Regions from separate parts of the Homo sapiens genome. Here region 1 is linked to region 2. Evidence: promoter capture Hi-C in 16 types of primary human blood cells and fetal thymus (Javierre and others, 2016). All regions are on one chromosome and are shown on one strand. Each heading gives the region's core, a stretch centred on a gene start or on the middle of the fragment in contact. The rest is flanking DNA. Distances are from core to core; before and after follow the strand shown. Region 1 has its middle 760 kb from the start of LINC01821. Region 2 holds the start of TMEFF2 (transmembrane protein with EGF like and two follistatin like domains 2).

What was found. Contacts are between HindIII fragments. The CHiCAGO score rates a contact against its expected background, and 5 or more counts as called.
Region 1: a contact is called between a fragment that was not itself captured here and the fragment with the promoter of TMEFF2 in region 2, in 1 of 17 cell types (M1 macrophages). The highest score is 7.2, in M1 macrophages.

The regions. Positions count from the first base shown.
Region 1 is chr2:193,585,475-193,592,863 of GRCh38, reverse strand. No RefSeq gene overlaps it. Among named protein-coding and RNA genes, the nearest start is that of LINC01821, 760 kb to the left of the region's middle. The HindIII fragment of the contact is 310 bases long and covers 2,442-2,751 here.
Region 2 is chr2:192,188,838-192,196,320 of GRCh38, reverse strand. It overlaps TMEFF2 (transmembrane protein with EGF like and two follistatin like domains 2), which reads left to right and starts at 1,388. Exons shown (of 10, transcript NM_016192.4): 1 at 1,388-1,968; 2 at 4,332-4,441. The coding sequence starts at 1,797. RefSeq lists an enhancer at 867-1,442. The HindIII fragment of the contact is 4,792 bases long and covers 1-2,313 here.

The sequences.
Region 1 (7,389 bases), core at 1,347-3,846, 1.4 Mb before region 2:
TCTCTCATCTTCTTACGCAAAAGGAAGGAGTCACTTTTATTGCTGCAAGATTCACTGCCTAAGATTGGAAAAGGGATGGTGCAAGCATTCTTACAGCTGTGCCAGCTGGTGTCTCCCTAGGTCATGTGCCATCCTACTACACTGGCTTTAAGCCAAGCCTAGCATTAGGAGTTGCCTAGGTACCACAGTCCTTGTGTGTTAGACTGCTTTTCAAGTTTACCTAGGAGCCCAGAGCCTACGGTGGCAAGGCTCGCCAAGAAACTCAAGTTCTGACTGCTGGCACAAGCGGTTCCACTCTGGCTAGAGCTGGTCCAAATACTCCCTCCATGCATGAGTGCCAGCTGAGCCCAGCATGGCTTTATTCTTCACTGTGACAGTGCAGCTCTGAGTTCAATAAAGTCCCCCAGTCACGGTCCTCTCCCTCCCCAAAATGTGAAGTTTCTTTCTCAGGGCTACTTGGCTGCTACTGGGGGATGAGAGAAGTGTGGCGTCAGTGATTCAAACCTGTCTCTCCTACCCTCCTTAATGCCTCTTTTAGCAATATGAAGTTCAAAATAGTTACTGTGTTTGTTCACCTAATTTTTGGTTCTTGTGACAATGTTTTCTAAATGCAGATAGTGGTTAAAACTTGGTGTTCCATCAGGGGGACAAATGGTGTAGGCTTCTCTTTTGCCATCTTGCTCTACACCTTGGTTTTCACTTTTGAGTACCATTTCCCTGAGCCATTTGGCCGGGTAAACCGTGACCTCCCCTATGGCTTTACCATTGGTAAAGACGCTAACTTGATTATCTTCTGCCACTCTTCTTTCCCAACCTTCCAGTTGTTTCAAACCCAGAAATATTGATATTATTGACATCTTAAATATCATAAATGGCATAGTGTGTCATAATTGCTCTCAGATTTTTTCTTATTCAAATTCTTATTCACTCCCACAGTGCCATTGTTCCAATGGGTCTTTTTTTTTTATGTTAGGATCACATAAATCTACCTTTTTTTAAAATTTTTTTTTAGAGACGGAGTCTTACACTGTTGCCCAGGCTGGAGTGCAGTGGCACAATCTCGGCTCACTGCAAGCTCCGCCTCCCGGGTTCACGCCATTCTCCTGCCTCAGCCTCCCGAGTAGCTGGGACTACAGGCGCCTGCCACCATGCCCGGCTAATTTTTTGTATTTTTAGTAGAGACGGAGTTTCACCGTGTTAGCCAGGATGGTCTTGATCTGACCTCGTGATCCGCCCGCCTCGGCATCCCAAAGTGCTGGGATTACAGGCATGAGCTACCGCGCCCGGCCACATAAATCTACCTTTAAAATCATATGAAAACTCCAGAAAGGATGATGTAGAAATCAATTTCCTAATTAAAATTTGTAGCTGAATGAGATCTTCCATGGCCTGGTTCCATGACTATATATGTATTTATTACACACCATTTTCCCTTCTCCATTTTCATTCTCCGTACAGCAGCTGTATTACTCTGTTTTCATGCTGCTGATAAAAACGTACCTGAGACTGGGCAATTTAGAAACCAAAAAAGGTTTAATGGACTCACAGTTCCATGTAGCTGAGGAGGCCTCACAATCATGGCAAAAGGCGAAAGGGAGGTCTTAGCAGCAGACAAGAGAGAATGAGAATCAAGTGAAAAGGGACACTTCTTAAAAAACCATCAGATCTCGTGAGACTTATTCACTACTACGAGAACAGTATGGGGTGAACTGCCTCGATGATTCAATTGTCTCCCACTGGATCCCTCCCACAACATGTAGGAATTATGGGAGCTACAATTCAAGATGAGATGAGATTTGGGTGGGAACACAGCCAAAGCATATCAGCAGCCAAACCGTATCAGCAGCCAAATGAATGTTTAATGCAAATTTGATCATCTGACACCCTGGCTGAAAGGCACTTCCAGTTTTCCGTTGCGCCTGAGATAAAGACTGAAAACAACTCTGATTACAAAATGCTAAATGAACTGGTCACAGAGAATCTCTGTAGGATCACCCAGTGCAATCTACCCACTTGTTTCTGTGGTCCATTTATACTCATCTTCTCTCAATTTTCCAACTTCCCTGTGCAACTTTTACCACAGAAATTCTGCTTCTGTGGTTCTTCTCCCAAGAAAAATTCTGTATTTCCTACCCCATATACCCTACTCCTATGTCACCTCTTTAACAATAAATTTCAATAAATATATTACTTCTCTAGGTTTATGATGAGCCATGGCACACTGTGGCCTTCCTGTTTTGTTTTGTTTTTTTTTTTTTGTGGTGTGTTTGTACATATTCAAACATTTCTGCTTCGCAGTTAAATAATGTGTAGATATGCTATGATATTGATATATTATATATATATATATGCATTTATAGAGTGGGCATATATATAACATCATTGCTATTTGTTTTTCTTATTCATTTATTTATTTTGTCATCCCCAGGAAACTGTAAGCTTCATGAGAACAGGGAACATACATTAGTTAAGTTAGATTTTCTCAGCATTTTATTGCAAGTACCAAACAGAATGTCTAAAGCTATGAGTTCCTGTTGCATCTGGAATAAGAGAATAAATTGCCTTACCTATTTTACATTCTTTATTACTCTAAAGATAATTTTGTGTGTATGTGTCTGCATACACGGAAGAGTTTTGATGATTTAGACAACCTGCAAATGCTTAAAAAATTAATGAGGGAATAAAATAGATGCCAGATGTTTCTTCCATTTGGCCACTGTTTGGATCCTGAAAAAAAAATTAGTATAAGCTTTTGTGTTTTCTTACTCTATAGTTTTACTTTTAACTTTTCTTCAAGAAACTATTCCAAAAAGAGCATGATAAATCTAAAGACATCCAGTCCCATGGGGGAAGAAAACAATATTAAATTGAATTAAAAGTTAATGAAATATTTTACTACTGCATTTTACCACAGCATTTGCAAGTTGTATCTGAGCATCCTAATAATTTTAAAACCACTATCCTCATCTCAATCGTGAAAGGCTGGGAAAAAGTTCTCATTTTATGATCCAGAAAGTCACTATGCAAAAGAAGAGAAATTAAGTTATAAAAAGAAGATACTGTATAACTTGCCTAATGGCCTGTAATCTGCTAAAAGTACAGCTGCAGTAGGCTGTTTAACAGGTGCTATGATTATGGAGCATAGCAAACATGTTAGGCTTTGTAGTGCATTTAATACCTTATAAACAATTGGACTAATTTGGACAAGGCTAACAGATTAGTTCAAATGACACTCTTGTAAAAGGTCTGTGATTATGTTGCACAAATTTGACTGAAATTTTAAACTTAGCAAGGTACTCAGCTTTAAAATGACTAGAATACTATTTTTTAATATTCCAGCACTGATTTCTAATGTTATTCCCTTCATATATAACACCGTACTTTTAAAAGGCAATAATCATTTTGAAGGTATTCTCACAGTTTCCAACATTACAAAACCATGTATTAGAATGTTCCAATAGTTCTACCACAATAGCCCATGTACTTTTTGAAAATGGGCATAAATCCCTGCCGTGAAACCATCAGAGCAAATGATTTGGGGTTTTGCTGCCAAGCAATTAACCATACATGTGTTATTTAAGCACCTCTGAGTAAAGCGATACGATTTTATATGTAGATTGAAAGCCAATCACTTAATAATTGAAGGAAGCTTATCTGTAATGACTGACTTAATGGCAGAACATGTGAACCAAAGGAAGGTATAGCTTGCTTAATGTCAAAAAGAGAAAAAAAGAAAAAAGAAGAAATAAAAGTAACATATATAACAAAACCAAGGTACATTTTAAAAATTCACTAAACTTTAAGAATAAAGAACGGATACAAAGGTCATGTAGGAAAAACAAGAAAAATAATGTCTTCCGGCATGGGCAATAATACAGGAGCCACTCTATTGATAATTTCAAGAGAGGTATTAGCTTGATCAGTCTCCACTCAGAAGGTAGCACCTGTCCACAGGAACACATTTAAGAATTACTAGGCTGGGCGCGGTGGCTCAGGCCTGTAATCCCAGCACTTTAGGAGGCCAAGGCAGGCGGATCACGAAGTCAGGAGATCAAGACCATCCTGGCTAACACGGTGAAACCCCGTCTCTACTAAAAATACAAAAAGTAGCCGGGTGTGGTGGCGGGCACCTGCAGTCCCAGCTACTCGGGAGGCTGAGGCAAGAGAATGGTGTGAACCCAGGAGGCAGAGCTTGCAGTGAGCCGAGATCACGCCACTGCACTCCATCCTGGGTGACAGAGCGAGACTCCATCTCAAAAAAAAAAAAAAAAGTGCATTTCTCAGATGATAAGTGATGTTAAGCATCTTTTAATATGTTTGCTGGCCACTTGTATGTCTTCCTTTGTAAAATGTCTGTTCATGTCCTTTGCCCACTTTTTAATGAAGTTTTTGTTTTTTTTGTTGTTGAGTAGTTTGAGTTCCCAGTAAATTCTGGATATTAACACTCTGTTGGAGGTACCGTTTGCAAATATGTTCTCACATGTGTAGGCTGTCTGTTTACTTTGTTGACTATTTCTTTTGCATGCTTAGTTTATTTAAATCCCAATTGTTTATTTTTGTTTTCGTTGTGTGTCCTTCTGAGAACTTATTCATAAATTGTTTGCCTAGAGAAATGGCCATAGTTTTTCCTAGGTTTTCTACTAGAAATTTTATCTTTAAACTTTAATTCATCTTGAGTTAGTTTGTATATGGTGTAAGATAGGAGTCCAGCTTCATTCCTCAGCATGTGAGTATCCGTTTTTTCCACCACCATTTATTTTATAGCATGTTCTTTTACTAGTGCGTATTTTCATGGACTTTGTCAAAAATCATATGGTTGTAGATATGTCTTTATTTCTAGTTCTCTATTCTGTTCCATTAATTGATGTGTCTATTTTTATACCAGTACTGTGCTGTTTTGGTTACTATAACCTTATAATATTATTTGAAGTCAGGTAATGTGATGCCTAGAGCTTTTTTCATTTTGCTTGAGATTACTTTGACTATTTGGGCTTTTTTTCTTTGCAGATGAATTTTTTGGATTGTTTTACATAATTCTCTGGAGAATGACCTTGGTACTTTGACAGGAATTGCATTGAACCTGTAGGTTGCTTTGGCAGTACAATTTAATGATACTGATTCTTCTGATCCATGAGCATTACATACTTTTTCCATTAATTTGTGTCATATATGATTTATTTAATCAATGTTTTGTAGTTCTCCTTGTAGAGATCTGTCATTTTCTTGGTTAAATATATTCCTAGGTATAATTTTTAGCAAATTTTAAATGGGATTGAGTTCTTGTTTTGGTTCTCAGCTTGACTGGTATTGGTGTATAGAAATGCTACTGATTTTTGTATGTTGATTTTATATCCTGAAAATTTACTGAAGTAATTTATCAAATCTAAAAGTCTTTTGCAGAAGTCTTTAGAGTTTACTAGGTATAAGAGTATATCAACAGCGGACAGAGATAATTTGACTTTCTCTTTTCCAATTTAAATGTTTTTCATCTTTTCCTTTTGCTTGATTGCCATAGCTAGAACTTCCAGTACTATGTTGAATAGCAGTGGTGAAAGTAGGTATCCTTGTCTTGTTCCATTTCTTAGGGGAAGTGCTTTTCCCCATTCTGTTTAATGTTGCCTGTGGGTTTGTTATACATGGCTTTTATTATTTTAAGTATGTTCTTTCTATTCCTAGTTTGGCAAGGGTTTTTGTCATGAAAAAAATGACAAATTTTATTAAATGTTTTTTTCTCAATCTTTTGAGATGATTCTGTGGTTTTTGTTTTTAATTCTTTTATATGGTAAATCACTGATATGGTTTGAATCCTGTGTCCCCACCCAAATCTCATGTTGAAATGTAATCCCCAATCCCCAACAGGAGGTTGGGAGGTGATTGGATCACGAGGGTAGTTTCTCATAAATCATTTAGCACCATCTTCTTTGGTCACCATAGTAAGTGAGTTATCATGAGATCTGGTCATTTAAAAGTGTGTAGCACCTTCTCTCTCTATTTAAAATTTGCTAAAAATTATACCTAGGAATATATTTAACCAAGAAAATGACAGATCTCTACAAAGAGAACTACAAAACATTGATTAAATAAATCATATATGACACAAACTAGTGGAAAAAGTATCTCATGATCATGGATCAGAAGAATCAGTATCTTTAAATTGTACTGCCCAAAGCGATCCACAGGTTCGATGCAATTCCTATCAAACTACCAAGGTGATTCTTCAGAGAATTATGTAAAACAATCCTAAATGGGGTTTCACCATGTTAGCCAGGATGGTCTCAATCTCCTGACCTCATGATCCGCCCACCTTGGCCTCCCAAAGTGCTGGTATTACTGGCATAGCCACCACACCTGGCCGCCACACTCTTAAACAACTAAATCTCACAAGAACGCACTATCATGAGAACAGTACCAAGTGGGTGGTGCTAAACCATTTATGAGAACCCACCCCTATGATCAAATCACCTCCCACCAGGCCCCTGCTCTGACACTGAGGATTACAATTCTACATGAGATTTGGTGGGGGCACTGATCCAAACCATATCAGGCGGGTTTTTTTGTATGCAGCTTATGTTTAAAAAGTTTTTATATTTTTATCCATTCTGCCAACTGACATATTTTAAGTGGAGCATATAGCCCTTTACCTTTAAAGTTAATATTGATATGAGAGGTTTTCTTCTTGCCATAATGTTATTACATATTTGCTTTGCAGTCTCAATTGTGTAATTACTTTATGTGACCTGCACGTTTTTATGATGACAAGTATACCCCTTCCATTTCCATTTTTAACTCGTTTGAGCATTTCTTTTAGGACTGATCTAGTGGTGACAAATTCCCTTGGTGTTTTCTTGACTCGGAGCAACTTTATTTTTCCTTCATTTAGGAAACTTAGTTTAGCAAGATACAAAATTCTTGGCTTGCACTTTTTCTTCTTTAAAAAGACTGTAAATGGGACCCTAATGTCTTCTCATTTGTAATGTTTCTGCTGATATGTCTGCTGTTAGTCTGATGGTATTTCCTTCATAGGTGATTAGATGTTTCTCTCTTGCCCATTTTAGAATTTTTTTCTATCTTGTTGACTTTGTATAGTCTGACGACTATATTCCTTGATGAGTTCCTTCTTGCAATGTATCTCCCAAGAATTCTTTAAATATATTGTATCTGGATGTCTAGAACTTTAACAAGACCAGAAAAGTTTTTCTCAATTATTCCCTAGAATATATTTTCCATATGTTTTATTTTACAATTTTTCTGTTATCTCTGGAATAGTTACTACTTATAGTTTTGAAGGCTTTACATAATCCAATATTTATCAAAAGCTTTTTTTAAAATCTCTTTTGAATTTTTGTTCAAATAGGTTAATTTGAAAGACCTGCCATCTAGTTCTAAAAT
Region 2 (7,483 bases), core at 139-2,638:
GAGCGGAGAGAAGATAAACAAAAACAAAAACAGGAATCACTGAATAATCACACACCAAAAAGAAAGCTCTTCCCTATGGGGCATCCAAAACACTGAGACTGCAATAGTGACCCCGGTCATGGAAGAAAGATGTTCCTCTCCACCCTTGTCCCCGAAAGCTCTTGGTCCCGTTACTGGCGACTAAAATTCCATTAGGCTAAAGAGTGTGTCTAACTGCCTGAAGAATGCAGCAGACGGAAGGCGGGTCCCGCTATGCCGTTTGCCCTTCCCGCTGGAGAGAATGAAAGAAACGCGCAGAGCCAGAGACTCCTGCCGAGTTAGACCTTCTCTCGTCGCCCCAGGTCACCGGCCATCCGGCAAAGACCCGAGTAAGGAACGCAGGGTCACTGCCTGGGCCAACAAATGGAGCCCGCTCTCCCCTTCCCGGACGCCGCTGCCCGGCCGATGCTCCCGGCAACCCACCCGCGGCGTATGCAGAGGAGCCTTTCTCTTTCTCTCAGACCACTTGTCCCGACCAATCTGACCTTCCAAACACATCTGACCGCACCTCCCAGGTGGACACACTAATAGGCTACGGGCTGGAGAGGAGCGGGTGATGAGGAGAGGGATTCAAACCTGCGAACGCTTGGGCTGGGTCGGAGCTGCGGGGGGCCTGGGAGGAGAGAGGGGAGAAGAGAGAAGGAAGGAGAGCGCCTGCCGGGATGGCTGAGCTGCCTCGGCGAGCAGCCTTGGGGTTGCACGCTCTTGTGGGAGATGCTGCTGTTGCTTCCAGGTCGGCAAGAGCGGTTCTAACACCATCGCCTCTCACCCTCTTTCCTGTAAATCCCTAGAGAAACGTCCCTGGCCTCTCCGCCGCGACATTCCCAGCCTGCATCCCCCTACAGCCTAGGCGGCGCGCTCCCGCACGCTGGAGCGCCGGTCGCCAGCAGGACGCCCTCTCCCGCGCCGACTCGCCCCTCTCTGCCCTGCTGCTGCTGCTCCTCTGACACCTCCGCCCCCACCATCTCCAGCTCGGAGAGACGCCACCCAGCCGCGGCCCGCACTCGCGGCCCGGGGTCACGCGCGGAAGAGGGGCGCTAGTCCGGACCCCGCCTTCGGTAGGGGGCGTCCTGGAGCGGAGAGTGAGGCGAATGGTATATGAGTGTGCGGGTAGCCCACCCTGAAGCCCGAGCTTCTCATTTGAGCCATCCCCGCCTAGCCCCACTCGGGCCAGCGCCTGGCGAGCGAGCCCATCTGTGGCTTCCGCGGCCGCCTCCTCCTTGCATCCTTGCACCTCCTCGTCGACCCCTCCCTCCCGGGACCTGCATCCTGCTCCACCAATCAGAGCCCGACTGCCTCTTCCCACGTGACCCCGGGCGGGCTGAGGACCTGCTGCTTCCCAAACGCCAGAGGGATGCGGGCGGCAGAGCTCGAGAGGCGGCTGCCGGGCTGCGGGGCGCCTTGACTCTCCCTCCACCCTGCCTCCTCGGGCTCCACTCGTCTGCCCCTGGACTCCCGTCTCCTCCTGTCCTCCGGCTTCCCAGAGCTCCCTCCTTATGGCAGCAGCTTCCCGCGTCTCCGGCGCAGCTTCTCAGCGGACGACCCTCTCGCTCCGGGGCTGAGCCCAGTCCCTGGATGTTGCTGAAACTCTCGAGATCATGCGCGGGTTTGGCTGCTGCTTCCCCGCCGGGTGCCACTGCCACCGCCGCCGCCTCTGCTGCCGCCGTCCGCGGGATGCTCAGTAGCCCGCTGCCCGGCCCCCGCGATCCTGTGTTCCTCGGAAGCCGTTTGCTGCTGCAGAGTTGCACGAACTAGTCATGGTGCTGTGGGAGTCCCCGCGGCAGTGCAGCAGCTGGACACTTTGCGAGGGCTTTTGCTGGCTGCTGCTGCTGCCCGTCATGCTACTCATCGTAGCCCGCCCGGTGAAGCTCGCTGCTTTCCCTACCTCCTTAAGTGACTGCCAAACGCCCACCGGCTGGAATTGCTCTGGTAAGTCCAGAACCCCCGTCCCCGACCCTTTAACTCCGCAGAAGAACACGCGTATCCAGCACAGACCAGCCTACCCTAGCGCGCCTCCTCAGCCCCTCACCTCCTACTGCCCTAGACCCCTAATACCACCCACCTCTATCCAGAGAAACAAGGGGAACTGTTGCAGGCCCGGGGGTGAGGGGTGGTTCTGGGATGGGCAGAAAGTGCAGGTGTAGCAGGAAACCTTTGCATGCTTGCGCTTACATTGGAGCTGCGAGGATTTTGAGAAATATTAAACGGGATGGTTTTCTGGGTTCACTGTTTTGAAAGAGCACCAATCCTAGGGGAAACACTGAAACAGAAGCTTTGTCATCATTAAAGAAAAAAGTCTTACTAGGATGAGGAAGAAATAACTTTATGAGAAAGAATGAGCGAGAAAGCAATAAATCAAATGGTGACTGCAGGGGAATCGCTGATTCCTGGCAAAGGTGCCATGAGGTCGCACTGGTCTCCCGTTGAAGACCAGGTCACACAGATTCTAGAGGAGCTGGGTTTCAATAGAATTTCTCTCTCTCTCTCTCTCTCTCTCTCTCTCTCTCTCTCTCTCTCTCTATCTATCTATCTCTCTCTCTCTCTCATTCCCTTCTCTCCTAGGCGGCAAAAGACATTGGTTTTGCAGTCCAGATATGCCCCTCTCTTTGCTTCCCTAAGCTTCAAGGTAGTACAGGGGAGTTGAGAAAAAGAACACTTTGCGGGTCTCCCAGGCCGGAGTGGGCATGACTGAGGCTGGTCAGGCTCCATGTAGGCGAGCCGAGGGCGGAACCGACTTCAGTGGGCGCTGACTCCTCCATTTCTGGACAGGCTTCTGTGGAGTGGGTCAGGCACTCTTCTTGCTCGCTCGGGTTCCTTCAGATTCTGACGGCGAACGCTTGGCAGGCTTCGCTCTGCTGAAGCTTCCTAATTAAATAGGGCCAGAGGATGGGAGTTGCTGCACTCCTAGCTGGCATAGCATTTCGGTTTGACAGCCTGTAGTATACTGGGCAGAATTGTGGTGTAATTTCCTTGGCATTTTAAACTCCGTTAACATGCCTGGGTATTGTCCCCTAGGTGTGGTCTGTTCTAGTTTTAGCAAGTGTGTATGTAATTTTTCATCTTCTGTGAATATAATTTTGCTGTAGTTAAATCTGGCTCTGAATAAAGTGTCTTTCAAAGATGTATATAAGCTGAAGTGTATGTAACTTTAGAGAGGAGGGAATGACCAACTGTAACTCAGGGTGAAAGCCTGTATAGTTCCTAGTTATTACTGATGTAAATGCCAAAAGGAAAATTATTATGCATCATTCTAATTTATCCTTTACAAAGACAAGTTGAGATATGCAACCCTATTAGATTTGGGTCAATAGATTGTTCTCTTTTTTGGCAGTTTCTAAATTTGGCATTTTAATAAAACTCAACATGTTTCTATAACTTCTTGATTCATGCGTACATGTGTGTTGTTTTTGAAAGAATAAGTTTCACTTTGCTATTGCCTAATCACTTTTTAGATGCTTTATTATGGTAATAATTATGAGCCTGCAAAAACAATTTTTGGAAATGTTGATGGCTTTGTAGTCCAACACAGACTGGTTTGCTTCATTCCTAGCCCTTGCATTGTTTTAGGAAATAACTAACTTAAATGTGAAGTTGACATTTGCAATCAAGAAATTACATATTTACCAGATATTTTAAAGGGGACTGCATAAACTAAAGAGAATAAACTGGTTTTGCAGATAGGTTGTCAAGAACTTGGCACCCCGCTTCCACCCCTGTTAACTTAGAGGTGATCAATCTTCATTTGAGCCAAACAGACCATCACAGAAAACACTGTGCCTGTTTATCTTTATTATTGAGGCTTTGTTTCCTCTTTGTCTGGATACATTTCAAATAAGGGGTTGTTTCAGTCGTTGAAGCAAAAGAACAATTAAAGATGGGGAAATGGTAAAAGGGTATTCAGAGATCATCACTAGCTCTTTTCCAAAATGTGGAGTTTTGTGGTCATAAATATTGTCCACCTAATGAGCAAAAAATAAAAATAAAAAAAAAACAGGAAGCAAATGTTAAGCTTTCATTCACCACTGTCAGTATTAACGCAAGCTTTAAAAAATAGCACTATCAGAAAAGGATACTAAAGGAGAATTGACTAGAAAAGAATTGTGGAAAATGGAAACGAATATTGATCACTTAACTAGATTTTGAGGTTATCAGTAGACAGTGACCTTGCAGTACAGCTATAGTTGTTGGATTTAAAATTTAGGACAAGTATTTTAAAGCTTCAAAGTAGTGCTTTTTTTTGTTAAAAATCTGTAAGATGTTTTAATGACTGGAGTGTTCTCTTTGAATTTGAGGTTATGATGACAGAGAAAATGATCTCTTCCTCTGTGACACCAACACCTGTAAATTTGATGGGGAATGTTTAAGAATTGGAGACACTGTGACTTGCGTCTGTCAGTTCAAGGTAAGAAGTCTTATATTTGCATCTTCTAATTCATTAATGAGACTGCAAAGCAGGAATCTTCCTTTACAGCCTATCACTTGGAAATTTATAGCTATGCAAGCTAAGAGGGAAGCTGGCACCAAGCAAAAGTACTAGCAAGAGAGCCAACTGATGTCAAGAAGACATACGCTTTTTGGAGAAATGTATATGCCAAAGTTATAAATGCTGCTGGAGGTAGAAAGCTTCAGGTTGTGCTTTTGGGATGTCAAAGGAAAATTATGTTTCTCTGACCCTTCTAGCATCACTTTAAAAGTGAATTGACTGGGGATAATAGTCAAAATAGGGGGTAAGAAGTGTGGACTTATTCTTTTGTTCTTTTTGATTGGGGCTATCATCTTTTTATCTTATTGCTATCTGTTTTAATGGTCTTGGCCTTTATTATCCTTGCAACCTGACTAGGTTTTTAAGGTAACTCCTTATTAGTGTAACCTCAACACTTTGTTCTAATTTGGAAATCATGGAACTTATTAATTAGTGTATATCAGCTTTTTCATAGATACCACACTCAATTAGAACTGAATCCCCTAGGAATCCAGAAGAGCATTTAGATCCACAAGTCATTTTATGAACATCAGGAAATGTACTTTTTCTTGTGTTAATTTCTTTTAACTAACAAAGAGAGAAAGAAGTTGCACTACTGGCATGATCAAAACTGGGTTATTAGTATCTATTAAAGATAGAACTTTTAGTGTCATTAGTATAGTCATTAGCTAACAAATGCTTTCCACCATGTAAGTTATAAAACTTTTCCTCTCAAAGTGTTCATATAATCATGCAGAACTTCAAGTAGCATGGATGTTGTACTAATAGCCTATATTTGCCCTTGAGTATTTTAAGTTACTTTTAAAAATACTTTTAAAATCTGACAATATGACTCAACCAGGAAATATGCACATAAACAAAACTGTATGTGAGATAATGAAAACTTTTCTAAGATTGTAAGAATAAAAATGATATAGAACAAATAAAAACAATAAACTCAAATTTAGACCTAGATATCTGGTTAATAAGTAATATTTAGAATTATTGATGAAATTTAAATATTTTAGATGGAATTCAACCTCCCACTAAGAAAGAGAAGAGAATTCACATTTAAATAAAGTTTAAGTGGCTTTTAGAAATGCTAAAACCTTCTTAGACATTATTTTATTCTTTCTAAGAAACATAATAAGACAACTGATATTTGTAAAGTGCACCACCTCCTGGTGGGTAAGTAGTGCTCTGACTGTACAGTTTTTTAGACCATACCATAGTGTCAGAAACATATTCTTGCATATTTAATATGCATGTAACGTCAACTTCTAAGGTCTGCAGCCACATTAAACAGTGCCATTATGTACTTCCAATGAACTACATGAGAGAGATAGAGTATGAGAACTCCCCAATTCATACTTACCCAAATGTTAACTAAACAGGAAAAAAGCACAGTTGGATAAATCATTAATTAAAGTCCCAGAGAATTTTGTGAATTTTTTCCTTCTTTCCCTTTGTGATTTCCATAAATTTGTCTTATTTTCATAACCATGGGTAGACAAAAGCAATGAACTCATAAAAAGTATCAAATGAACCAGGAAAAACATTCCTGAAATGTAAAGCCATGGTTCTAAGATTTCACCAGGAGAAAAAAAAAAGGGGTTGACAGAACTCTAAAGGGATGAATGCTACGAAATGAAAATAAATAATTTTCTTATTAAAGGAATTGTTTTCATTTTATAGGTGCCACAGAAGATTTTGGTAAAACTTTTATCAACAAAAATATTTGTGTTTTTCATACATTGGCCAGTCATGTTTGTCATTAATTTAAATAATCGTTAAGTGGAATAGATGGGGGAGTGGAAACGAATGCAAGTCTGTGTAAGAAACTAAAATGTAAATTGTTTTTTTGTAATCCTTGTGGCATTTTAAATGTACTAGTGTACTACTACTGCTATTAGTTTGTGCTTTGCAATAGTTGTCAATCTGGCAAGAAAAAATAAACATCTCCCTAGTGGAAAATGTAGACTTTGCACATACCAAGAATATAGAGTGGCTGAATTAAGTTGAAAATCAAAGAAAAGTATAAGTTGCATGAAGAATAATAAATAGGATATTTTAAGCTAAGAGTCTCTTGAGTCCATCTTTTCCCAATACATGAATTTGAGTTTTTGGTGTTTGTTATTTTAGCCCTAGTATCTGATAAAAAGGGAGAGGTATTGAAAATCTATTTTCCTATATATTATCCTAAACTTCTGTTTCTTTCTCTGCTGCCTTTTCAGGTACAAGCGTGCATTCCTTTTTTTTTTTTTGGAATTTTTGGAGACAAGGGTCTTGCTCTGCCACCCAGGCTGGATAGTGGTGATGCCCTCTTGGCTCACTGCAACCTCCACCTCCTGGGTCCCAGCAATTCTTGTGCCTCAGCCTCCCGAGTAGCTGGGAATACAGGTGCACTCCATCATTCTCAGCTAATTTTTTTGAATTTTAGTAGACACACGGTTTCACCACGTTACCCAGGCTGGTCTCAAACTCCTGCCCTCAGGAGATCCACCCGCCTCGGTCTCCCAAAGTGCTAGGATTACAGGTGTGAGCCACCACACCCAGCCTGCAATCTATAGTCTTTCTAGCTGAGAGATAAATTTCAAAGAGAAATGGGCATATATTTTTATACCTATAATGTTTTCAATTTGCCTTATCACTGGAACACTAAAGTAAACATTATTAGCCTTCACCTCTCTTAGACGATTTTAAATAAACTGATTTCTGTCCTTCAAACATATTATCTCATTTATTTCTCACAACCCGGTGAGATAATTGTTTTCTCCCCCCTTTTTTAAACTTTTATTTTAGGTTTTGGGGTACATGTGAAGGTTTATTACATATGTAAACATGTGTCACGGGGGTTTGTCGTACATATCATTTCATCACCCAGGTATTAAGCCCAGTAATTATGAGGATGAAAATTTGGAGACAGTAGATGGACAGATAGATAGATAGATAGATAGATAGATAGATAGATAGATAGATAGA